Linked DNA regions of Homo sapiens: region 2 is linked to region 1. Evidence: promoter capture Hi-C in human tissues and cell types (Jung and others, 2019). All regions are on one chromosome and are shown on one strand. Each heading gives the region's core, a stretch centred on a gene start or on the middle of the fragment in contact. The rest is flanking DNA. Distances are from core to core; before and after follow the strand shown. Region 1 holds the start of LRP2 (LDL receptor related protein 2). Region 2 overlaps STK39 (serine/threonine kinase 39).

Region 1 (5,066 bases), core at 1,903-4,402:
AGTGTTATAAAGTTATACATATCTTTTCCACATGAAAGTTATTTTGGTTTCTATGTTGTTATATTTCATTTGAATATAATTCTTGCCTTGACCTGCTAAATTGATTTCATTACCCTCTAAAAAGTAATTACCTCTGTTTGCAAGCACTAGTTTGATAGAACTACCAAGTTGAATTGTCTGGTTGCCAAATGGAAAGTAGATGGGAGGGGGCAAAACTGATAGCAAGGAGCTCATTCTAAGGCTCTCCCTATAATTTAGATTGATGAGTGGATTGATAAATTTGAGGTAACAGAATTTCATGATTGATTGGCAATGGGGGTGGAAAAAAGAAGGAGTCAAGAATGATGTAAATTTCAGCTTGGCTTCTGGGGCAATGGTGGTGCTGAAGCTTCTTGGTTTCACTTTCACCTGTCTCTTTCGGTTGACTGCTCTGAAAAGTCCTATATACATATATGGAGAGAGAAATGTGAAAACTAAAGAAATTATCTTTTTGCATTATAGAGAAACACTGCTGGCTTAAATTGCAACTGAATTAACCTGGGCTTTCCCAGATACTGGTCCATAGATTTAATCACCCCAATCTAGTAACAGGCATTCTCAGGTATGGATGCCAGAGATAAACACGTGCATGGTGCAGGCTGTTTTCAAACGTCACGAATTGGGGATTGCATTGAGAAAATGGGTTATTCTAGTGGAAAAGTGTGTGGGTCCACATACAGAGTGCTGCGAATGATGGGCTGTGCTCCGCTAGGTGGTCCCCCATCCCTACCCCTTTTCTGCTCTCCTACCTCCCGTTCTCCCTCCCTCCTTTCCCCTCTTCTGCGTTATTCTGGGATTAACGGCGGGGTCGGCCCCATACACAAACGCAGCTGGCTAGTACGGTCAGCCTGAGCCCTGCTGTGCAACCACGTCAGGAATTCCAGTAAGTTGGCAACACTGGAGCACAAAGACAACAACAATTGAGGAACTCTTCAGTACAGAAAGGAATGTTTGGAGCCCTGGCTGCTACAGTGAAAGGGCACACACACACACACACACACACACACACACACACACACACACACACACACACACACACGCTCGCGCCTGCGCGCCCACGGGCGCACTGGAGGGAGCCCAGCCCCTCCCGCACTCGCGCTCCTCCCTCCCGCCAGCCGGCGGCCGCTCTTTGTAAGTCGGAGGTGCGGGGACGCTCATTGACTATGCAGCGCGGCCCCAGCGGGCGTCGGACCGGCTTGACCCCGGCGCGGTCTCGTACCATCGCCTCGGCCGCCCGGAACCGGCATAAATCACCCGCGAAGACTGGAGTGCAGCATCAAGCCCCCTCGCCGCCTCCCTCCTCCCGCTCCGGTCCGGTCGCCCCCTCCCTCCCCAGACCCCGGCTCTCCTGTCCCCAGTCCTGTCTCCTCCGCGCCGCACAGCGCCCAACACTATGCAGGGAGGCAAATAGAGAACCAGTGACTTTGGCCAGAGCACAGACCTCTGGATTTCCCAATCCAGGAATCTCTCCCACTCTTTCCCACAACGCTGCCCGCTCCACCTTTTTTTCTTTAAGCCTAAGTTTTCTCTTTTTGTGTCTATTTATCTCTTTTTGTCTTTCCAAAGTAACACCTATCCTTTCCCTCCCCTAGCCCCCACACCTAAAGCTGCGCCTACCACTGCAGCCCACGGAAGCTACGCGATCCGGACTGTTGGGGTCAGCAGAGCCCCGGACGACCTGTGCCCCGGGGAAAGGGGCTGGCAGTAATTGGCAGGTTCTCGCCCCTGGGGAAGGGAGGCAGCGGGAACCTGTCCAGCGACCACGTGCGTTCAGGGCTGTCTCCTCCATGCGTCACGGCCCCTTCGCTGGAGGGAAAGGGCTCCTGACTTCTTGGACCAGGATCCGGAGCCTGGGACTAGCTGCCGCGCTGGTTCAGGGGCTGGAGCTGGAGATGATGGGATGGCCTCAGGCCCGCAAACAGCCCCTTCTCACACAGGGTTCCCACCACCGGGAAATAACTTGCATCAACCCTCCTTTTTTACCCCTCCCTGTGGGCTCTGATGTCACGTACAGGCTGAGGACGTGCGCTGAGGGCGGGTGTAAGGCCACTTGTGCTTTTGGCTTCCGGGCCCCTTGCCAGCCTGTCCAAAGCGGCCCCAAAGAAGGGAGGCTAGGGGTTCCCTGAACCTCTCGTGTTTCTCCTTCTTATAAAAGGGTACCGGAACCATGGAGAAGACGTTCGCTCTTTTTCAATTTTGCTTCAAAATGAGCAGACTTGTAAGAAGCACGATCTGGCCATGACACCTGTAGATGTGGTGCTGAATAATTGCTAAATAAGGATCCAACCTCCCCAACAAAGATCCACCTCCCTCTCTAATTTGTAAAAACACAAAGCACCCCATCTCAGCAGCCTGTATCCTATCAGGGGAAACCAAGATATCCGAAGGAGCCTAGAGAGATCAGGCCAGGAATGAAGGTCACAGATCTCCATCCAGCAGGCTCTTTACTCCTTCCCTTCCCTACCCCCGCCTCTTTCCCTTTCTTTCTCTTTCCTTCATTTTTACTTGTCTGGTTGTGCTTTCCTTTTCCATTTCTTATTTTTTCTTTCTCTTCTCTATTCTTGACTTTCCTCCTCGTCCATTTCTTTCCATTGCTCATTTAGTAAAACTGCGTCCGTGCAGATTTCCCCGTGAGCCGCCTCGCCGGCTTCTGTGCGGGGCAAACCCTGCGGAGAGGCGAGGGCAGCGCGTGTGCACGTGTGAGTGTGCCTGTGAGAGTGTGCGCACAGGAGTGTGCTCTTGTATGCACGCGTAAAGGGGACTGTGTATGTCGGCGTTGAAGTGTGACTGTGGAATGTGCGCGCGTGTGTGACTGGCGTGTATGAGTGAATCTGTGTCAGTTGGTGTGACACTTAGGAGTGCATGCGCCTGTATGAGTGCGTGTGTGAGTGTGCACACGCCTGTGTGAGTGTCCCTGTGTGAGCACGCGTGTGTTCGAGTGCCCACTCCTCCCCGCGCTGCAAAGTGCAGGGGGCGGGCCGGGCGGCAGGGGGCCTGCCCGCTGGATTCCCGCATGCTTGTTCCGGGGCGGTCGGGTCTAAAGGGCTTTATGCACTGTCTGGAGGGTGGGGACTGGCGCGGGTAGAAAACGGGATGCCTCGGGCGTGGGGGCAGGCTTTTGGCCACTAGGAGCTGGCGGAGGTGCAGACCTAAAGGAGCGTTCGCTAGCAGAGGCGCTGCCGGTGCGGTGTGCTACGCGCGCCCACCTCCCGGGGAAGGAACGGCGAGGCCGGGGACCGTCGCGGAGATGGATCGCGGGCCGGCAGCAGTGGCGTGCACGCTGCTCCTGGCTCTCGTCGCCTGCCTAGCGCCGGCCAGTGGCCAAGGTAAGAGCCCAGCCAGAGCCTCTCGTGGAGCCCCCACTTCCCCGGCTGTGGCAGGGTCGGGTCCGCGGGAGGCCGGAGGGGAGAGCGTCCGGGCAGGGGCTAGGGCCGGGCGGCGGCGCGGGAGCTGCTCCCGGTGGGGCGCTCAGGTTGCTTCGCGAAGCCGGAGCGGGAGCGCCCCTCTTCGCTCGCCAGGAACTGAGCGGCAGCAAACTTGAGAAAGCAGCCCCGCCAGTTTCGGTGACAGCGCACCCCACGGAGACCCTGTCTTTGTTCCCACGGGCGTTGGTCCGATGCTCCTGGAAAGCACTTTGCGGGAGAACGAGGTTCTCCGCCGTTTGCAGCCTGCCCTCCCTAGCGGAGTTCTCTGCTGGGCGGCGCGGTCCCGGGCTCTGCTCAGAGCGCAGCTTTCCACCTGCAGCGCCCCTCCCGGGATCCCTTCGCGCGCCCAGGGCCGCGGGCCAGAGCACTCCTCCCACCACCGGCGAAACTTGGTCCCGCGGTGACCCCCAGAGACCGCTCTCACCATACAGATCATTTACGAGCCAAGATAAGGCCGGGAGGTGGGATTGGCCGAGAGAGTGGCTGAGGGACTGGAGTCTTTTCTTGAAGTTTTCCTTTCCAGCTGGGAGCTGGGGGCTTTTGTGTTGATGAATGGGGCCCGTCTGCATGGCCAGAGTTTTGGGGATCGAATGCAGAAAGTTTCTAGTATGAAGTGCTTTAAACTTCTCTCAAGTTGTCCGATAGTTTATGTTTTAACAGAAACAGAGAAGAGGGAAAGAGAGGGAGAAAGAAGCGGAGAGAATAAAACTAGTAAGAAGGGAAGAGGAGAGAGCGTAAGAGAAGCAAATAGGAATAAGGAAAGAAGGAGGGAAGAGAACGACTGGGGCGGGAGAAGAGAGAGAGAGAGGAGAGAGAGGAGAGAGACAGAGAGAGAGAGAGAGAGGGAGAGAGAGAGAGAGAGAGAGAGAGACAGAGAGAGACAGAGAGAGACAGAGAGAGACAGAGAGACAGAGACCCGGCCGAGGATGAATGGGAAGGGCGAGGAGGAGGCTGGAACCGGCGAGCTCTCCCCCTGGCTTTGCGTTGCTAGGTAGCAGCCGGGAGCTGCGTGTGACCGACCACCAGACAGACAGAGGGGACGCTGCTGCCACCGCAGGGACTAATCTGTCTGTGGGGATGGGAGAGTCCCCCCTTTCCCCTCCTGCTCCTTCCCTCCCGTCGGACAACTTAATTGCCCTACAATGAAAATGAAACCCCTATTGTTGTAGGATTAGCCAAAGCAATAAATTGATTTTCCTGGATCACATATTGGGGTTGATGGGTGGGGAATGTGGAAGCCCCCATTTACGGAGGAGTGAGGGGAGGGCTTGTGGATGGGCCGTGGCATGTATTCAAATGGTTAATCTGCTTTCTTTCCTCAATTCTTAGCGTAAGCTCCTTAGAGGGAATCAAGTAAGTAATTATACAGCAACTCCTAGCAGCACCCATTTCAGACTTCCTGGGAAGAAGTTTGGAAACCCTAACAAACCCCACAGGTCTTGCAAAAGTCTTCAGAAAGGCAGGAGAGGCAAGGAGAGATCATTAATAACCTTCCTTTGAACACCCTTTCTCAGTGTTGGTAACGCAGAAAGAGGGTTTATTATTATTGTGCAGAGTTTGCACAATGCTTAGGGTTGTATCTCATGTCCTAAATATAGCTAT
Region 2 (5,011 bases), core at 58-2,557, 1.2 Mb after region 1:
CCCTAAGGCGAGTTTCATCATGTCCTTAAGCATTAATGCTTGTGGAAAAGCTGCTGTGCAGGACAATGGATGGTGCAGGAGTTGGGGACATGGACCCCCCTAGCCAAGAAGTGAAGAGGGATGGCTCAGCTGCATGGAAGAAGAATGTGAGGTTGAGTGATCAAACTGATGGAAAGCCACTCTTGGGCCCCCTGCCCCTTCTTTTACCTGTCCTTATACTGCTCCTGTGGTTGTGTTGGTGTGGCAGTATCTGTGACCCCTCATCCCCCACTCATTTAAATTCTGGAACCTTTTAATGTCCAGATGGTGTCTCTAAGACTCAGAGTTTTGAAGGAATAGAATTTGCTAAGTTATATCTATAGGTTCTACAGGTTTTCTAAAGGAGTTACACACACACACACACACACACACACACACGCTCACTGCAAAGTCAGAGAACCTGATACTTTGGGTGGGAAGTGATACTGGCCATCTAAATGCAAAGGGCTAAAAAGTGTGTTTTTCTAGACTGACTCAACCTTGCCTTCAATGTAAAAGAATTTCCTTTTGTATGACCATTAGTTGTTTTGTGCATTTTGATAAATTATTTAAAAGTTTGGAGTTACAGCACTAGAAAAGCATTCACTTACATTTAGAGTGCAGCTGCATTTAAGAGACATTGTTCTCGTTTCTTTGAACACTAGGCATCTGTTTAAACTGGACCCTACCTAATGCTACAGACCTTCAGTGTGGGCCATCCCCGCACTGAGCAGATGCTATTGACTTGAAATAGGAGTGGCCAGGGCAGTGTTCCATTTCTCCTTCAGAAGTGTCTTATGGCATCAGAACCTAATACCGGAAACAGATGGAAACTGAACCTCAGGTTTCAGATCTTATTCAAAGGATAAGAGTTGCTGAATTGAAAAGTGTCAGATTTAGAAAACCTGTAATCAGTCAAATGGATGAGGGGAATGATGAAGGAAAATCATTGTTATATACTGAGAAGAAAAAAGAAAAATTAGTAGTTTCTAAGGAGTTTATCTTTGGTTAAAAGCACTTCATTTTTATTATTTTTTAATTTTTTTTTGAGACAGAATCTTGCTTTGTCACTCAGGCTGGAGTCCAGTGGCACGATCTCAGCTCACTGCAACCTCCACTTCCCGGGTTTGAGTGATTCTCGTTCCTCAGCTTCCTCAGTCATTGGGACTACAGGCGCACACCACCACACTCAGCTAATTTTTTTGTAGAGACAATGTTTCTCATGTTGGCTGGGCTGGTCTTGAACTCCTGACCTCGGGTGATCCGCCTGCTGCGGCCTCCCAAAGTGTTGGGATTACATGTATGAGCCACTGCCCCCAGCCAAAAGCACTTTAAATAAACATATATGTTAAGGAACGTATGAGTGTTACATATTACAGAATTTTGGCCAAGTTGTCGGATATATAGGATCTTTTTAGTAGTATGAGGATTAGGCAGTACTGGACAAGCAAAGATAACGTCCAAATTGAGATGTTCTGCTTGGGTAACTTTGAGTTAATGTGAAGCTCATTATTATTGAATATATTCATAGGATGCATAAATGTACCCTTCTTTCATCAATACATAATGGCAAAAATGAGGTTTCTTTGATCATTTAGGTTATTCTTGTCCTTTTTATGGCACCTTGAAAGTGAGTTACACTGGTCTGGTACCTTTGATTGAGAGTTACATTAGACTGAAGCTTTTATGGGAGTCATCCGACAATAACTTAAAACGAGAAACTGAAATCAATATGAAACTGAATATTCCAGAAAAATGTGATTTATTGAAAGTTTCCTTTTGTTTTATTTCTCAGCTTTGTTGTTTTATGTCTTTATATAAAACAACAAAGAATAAAATATATTTTATTCTCTACAGCAGTGTTTCCAAGATGTGACCCACAAAGCATTCTTTTCCTGCTCTGTTAATATGGATTAAACTATGGCAGTTTATCTACTGCAGGACTTCTCAGAGCCTTTGACAGTACTAATATTCCCTGTGATTCTTTTAGAATGAGATATATTATCTGATCTTTCCCAAGCTTATTTTACTTCGCCTGCCGCTCTCTTCCCTGCCACCTCCTTTTTTTAGTTAATGGAATATCTACTGTGGCAGATAGCTGGGAAATAATACTGTAGCATTTTCAAATGTATTTTCTCATTTACCATCACAGCAGTCCTGAGAAACAGGGACAGTTTTGTTGTCGTTTTTTGGATGAGGGAGGAGCTAAGATCCACCAGAGTTCAGGCTGGCACCAGGATGCAGGTGTCCTAGTAACTCACCCAGTCTTTTATCTCCCTGTCAAGCCTTCGGTTCAGGTATGAGGCTCTTAGTCCTATGTGGCAGGGCTCTCTGCTGGCAGAGTTGGGGGGTCATCTGGGTGATAACAGTGATCTGAAGTTCCTGTGTCTGGTAGCTGGTCCACAGGGCTCTGTGGTCTCCTGTAGAGAACTTTCTAATCTGAGTTGATAATGTGGGTGAGAGAATTGGTCCTTATATACCTTCTTTGAAGTAATGGCTTAGGCAGCCCCTCAGGTAGGCTTTCGAGTAGGAAAGTTACCCAGGTACTCAACTGTGATTCACTTGTGTTTTGCTTGCCAATTTTCACCCCATGGTACTATGTCATGTTTTGCTCTTTTTATAGAAAGAAATTCAAGCCATGAGTCAGTGCAGCCATCCCAACGTAGTGACCTATTACACCTCTTTTGTGGTCAAAGATGAACTTTGGCTGGTCATGAAATTACTAAGTGGAGGTAAGTGGATTTTGTTGTTGTTATTTATTTGCTTGTTTTCTCTCCTTTTGTTGGAACCAGCATATTGGAGAAGACTTTAGATTGAATCCTTTCTCTCCTGTGTTTGAAAGTTTGTTTGGTTTCTCATTGCCTAGAGGATAACGTCCAGATTGCTTCACATTGACCTTCAAAGCTTTTCATAATTTTGCTTAACTTCCGAGAATGTGTATGTCCTCTTCTCCAGGTATGAAATGCCCGACCTTCTAGGCTGAGAGGCAGCCCCCGGAATGTATTATGTGCTCTCATGCCTTTGCCCCTGACCTGTCCTCTTTCTCAGCCTTGCATCTCTCCTTTGTTTTCCATGTGCTCAGGCCTAAAAGGTCACATCCTCTCCACAGTCACCGCTTACTCTTCAAAAAAGTTAGCCAGTCCTTTCTCCTTGAGTCCTTTCTTTTTAACATTGTTCAGGTCCTTAACACATTGCAGTTTGCTGAATTATCTCAGTGCCATTTATCAGAATGTTCTGTGATGATGGAAATGTTCTGAGGTGCTGCTATCTACTTTTTACTAATCCCATGTGACTCTTAAGCACTTGACATGTGGCTAGTGTGACTGAGGGACTGAGTATTCAATTTTAATTAACTTACATTTAAATCACCTTGTATGGCTCCAGTATTGGACAGTGCATATTTAGGTTGTGGACTTTGTGAAGATTGTCTAATGCACTTTGAATTCATTGAACTTGGCGCCCAGTAGGTGCTCACTAAATGTGGTTTCAGTTGACATGGGGAGAAATGTGTGCTACATATTCACTTGCAGTGTTGATCAGAAATGGCACTATTGTCATCCTATTGTTGCATTTGGGAAGGGAAAGTCACTTCCTCTCTCTAGCTTCAGATCCCTGCAGTGATGCAAGCCATTGACAATTTAATTTACAAGGTGCTTTCACATCCTGTATTTTATTTCTTTTAATCTTCTAACATCACTATCAGAGAGGGAATGATAATGATAACCGTTGCCTTTTTTGAACACTTACTCTGTGGCTAGATCCTGTCCAAGGCAATTTACTGACCTTATCCCATTTAATCTTCACAGTGTCCCTGAATGGCCTGTGTCACCATCCCTGTTTTTCAGAAATTACACCAAATTTCAAGGGAGTTTAGCAACTTGCCCAAGGTCACACACATAGTAAATGTTGGTGCTGGAATTTGTGACTTTAACATCTGTTGACTTAAAAATTTGTATGCTGTGCTGCAAGTATTTACACCTTCGTTTTGCAGACATGGGCACTGAAGCTTAGAAAGCCCAAGTGATTTCCTTGGGAACACCCAGCATACCCACATCTCTGGTGTGTTCTCTTTCGAGGGCTTGATTCTCTGGGTATCTTTCTGAGACATGAAGTATGGTTTAGGATCAGAGGAGAACATTTTGCTGTGCCTGGACAACCCAAAACTAGCATAGCAGAATTTATATGATAGAGCCTATTTTAATCTGCAGATGTCGAGGGAGGTGTTTTAATGTTTTCCTTTTTTAAAAAGGAAACTCTCTTGGATCAAGCAGAAGCCCAAAAATGAGATGACGAAGGCATTGTAATTGGCTTGGGTCTGCTTGTGTAGGTCTCGGTGGGGAGCCCTGGGGAGCTTAGTTCTGTTCTGTTTTCAGTCTTCCTCAGTCTTATTAGTCATTGTTTCCTTGAGTGCCTACTTCAGTTTTTAATTAAAAAGAAAAAAAGAAAAAGGAAAAGAAAAAGGAAGCCTGCCAGAGCTGGACTGCAGTATTGAGTGCTGGGACTGCCCCTTTATTCAGCAGAGGAACTTGCGCTTTGCCAACAAGATGATCTTAAGGCATTCTCTTTTTGTGGGGTTCCACCAACTCTGAGGAAATGAGAAATTCTGATGACTTGAGACCCTGAATAGTCCCAAATGCTCTGCTCAAGCTGAAGATTTTACCTTTTGCTTTATGAAGCTGAGAATCTTCTGTTTTCTGAGGAGGATCTGACAGAAAATTTCTTTGTCTTTTTGAGTCCAATTTAGCCTCTCTGGGCTTTAGGTAAGAACAGATTTTAAACAGGTTTCCACAGGTAAGGACGTGGGCAGACGTGGACTCTTGTTCATTTTTCTTTTAGCAGGACAGAAATGCATGCATGCCTGGTATGGTATATCCTTATACAATAAAAAGAAAATGTTTTTGGAATTATCATTTTTTAAATGACACAAAAATCTAAGAGTCAACAAATAAACAGAGGTTTTTTTTTCCTCTGGGGAAAAATATGCATTTGTTTT

The links. The method cuts DNA at HindIII sites, captures the fragments that hold promoters and counts their contacts. A contact is called where the count stands out against the background at its distance.
Region 2: a fragment that was not itself captured here is called in contact with the fragment with the promoter of LRP2 in region 1 in 1 of the 25 tissues and cell types used here (hippocampus).

Annotation. Positions count from the first base shown.
Region 1 is chr2:169,360,620-169,365,685 of GRCh38, reverse strand. It overlaps LRP2 (LDL receptor related protein 2), which reads left to right and starts at 3,152. Exons shown (of 79, transcript NM_004525.3): 1 at 3,152-3,365. The coding sequence starts at 3,287. RefSeq lists enhancers at 2,034-2,667, 2,668-3,301. The HindIII fragment of the contact is 10,463 bases long and covers 1-5,066 here.
Region 2 is chr2:168,165,038-168,170,048 of GRCh38, reverse strand. STK39 (serine/threonine kinase 39) reads left to right here. Exons shown (of 18, transcript NM_013233.3): 3 at 2,642-2,750. Among named protein-coding and RNA genes, the nearest start is that of STK39, 80 kb to the left of the region's middle. The HindIII fragment of the contact is 4,333 bases long and covers 1-3,473 here.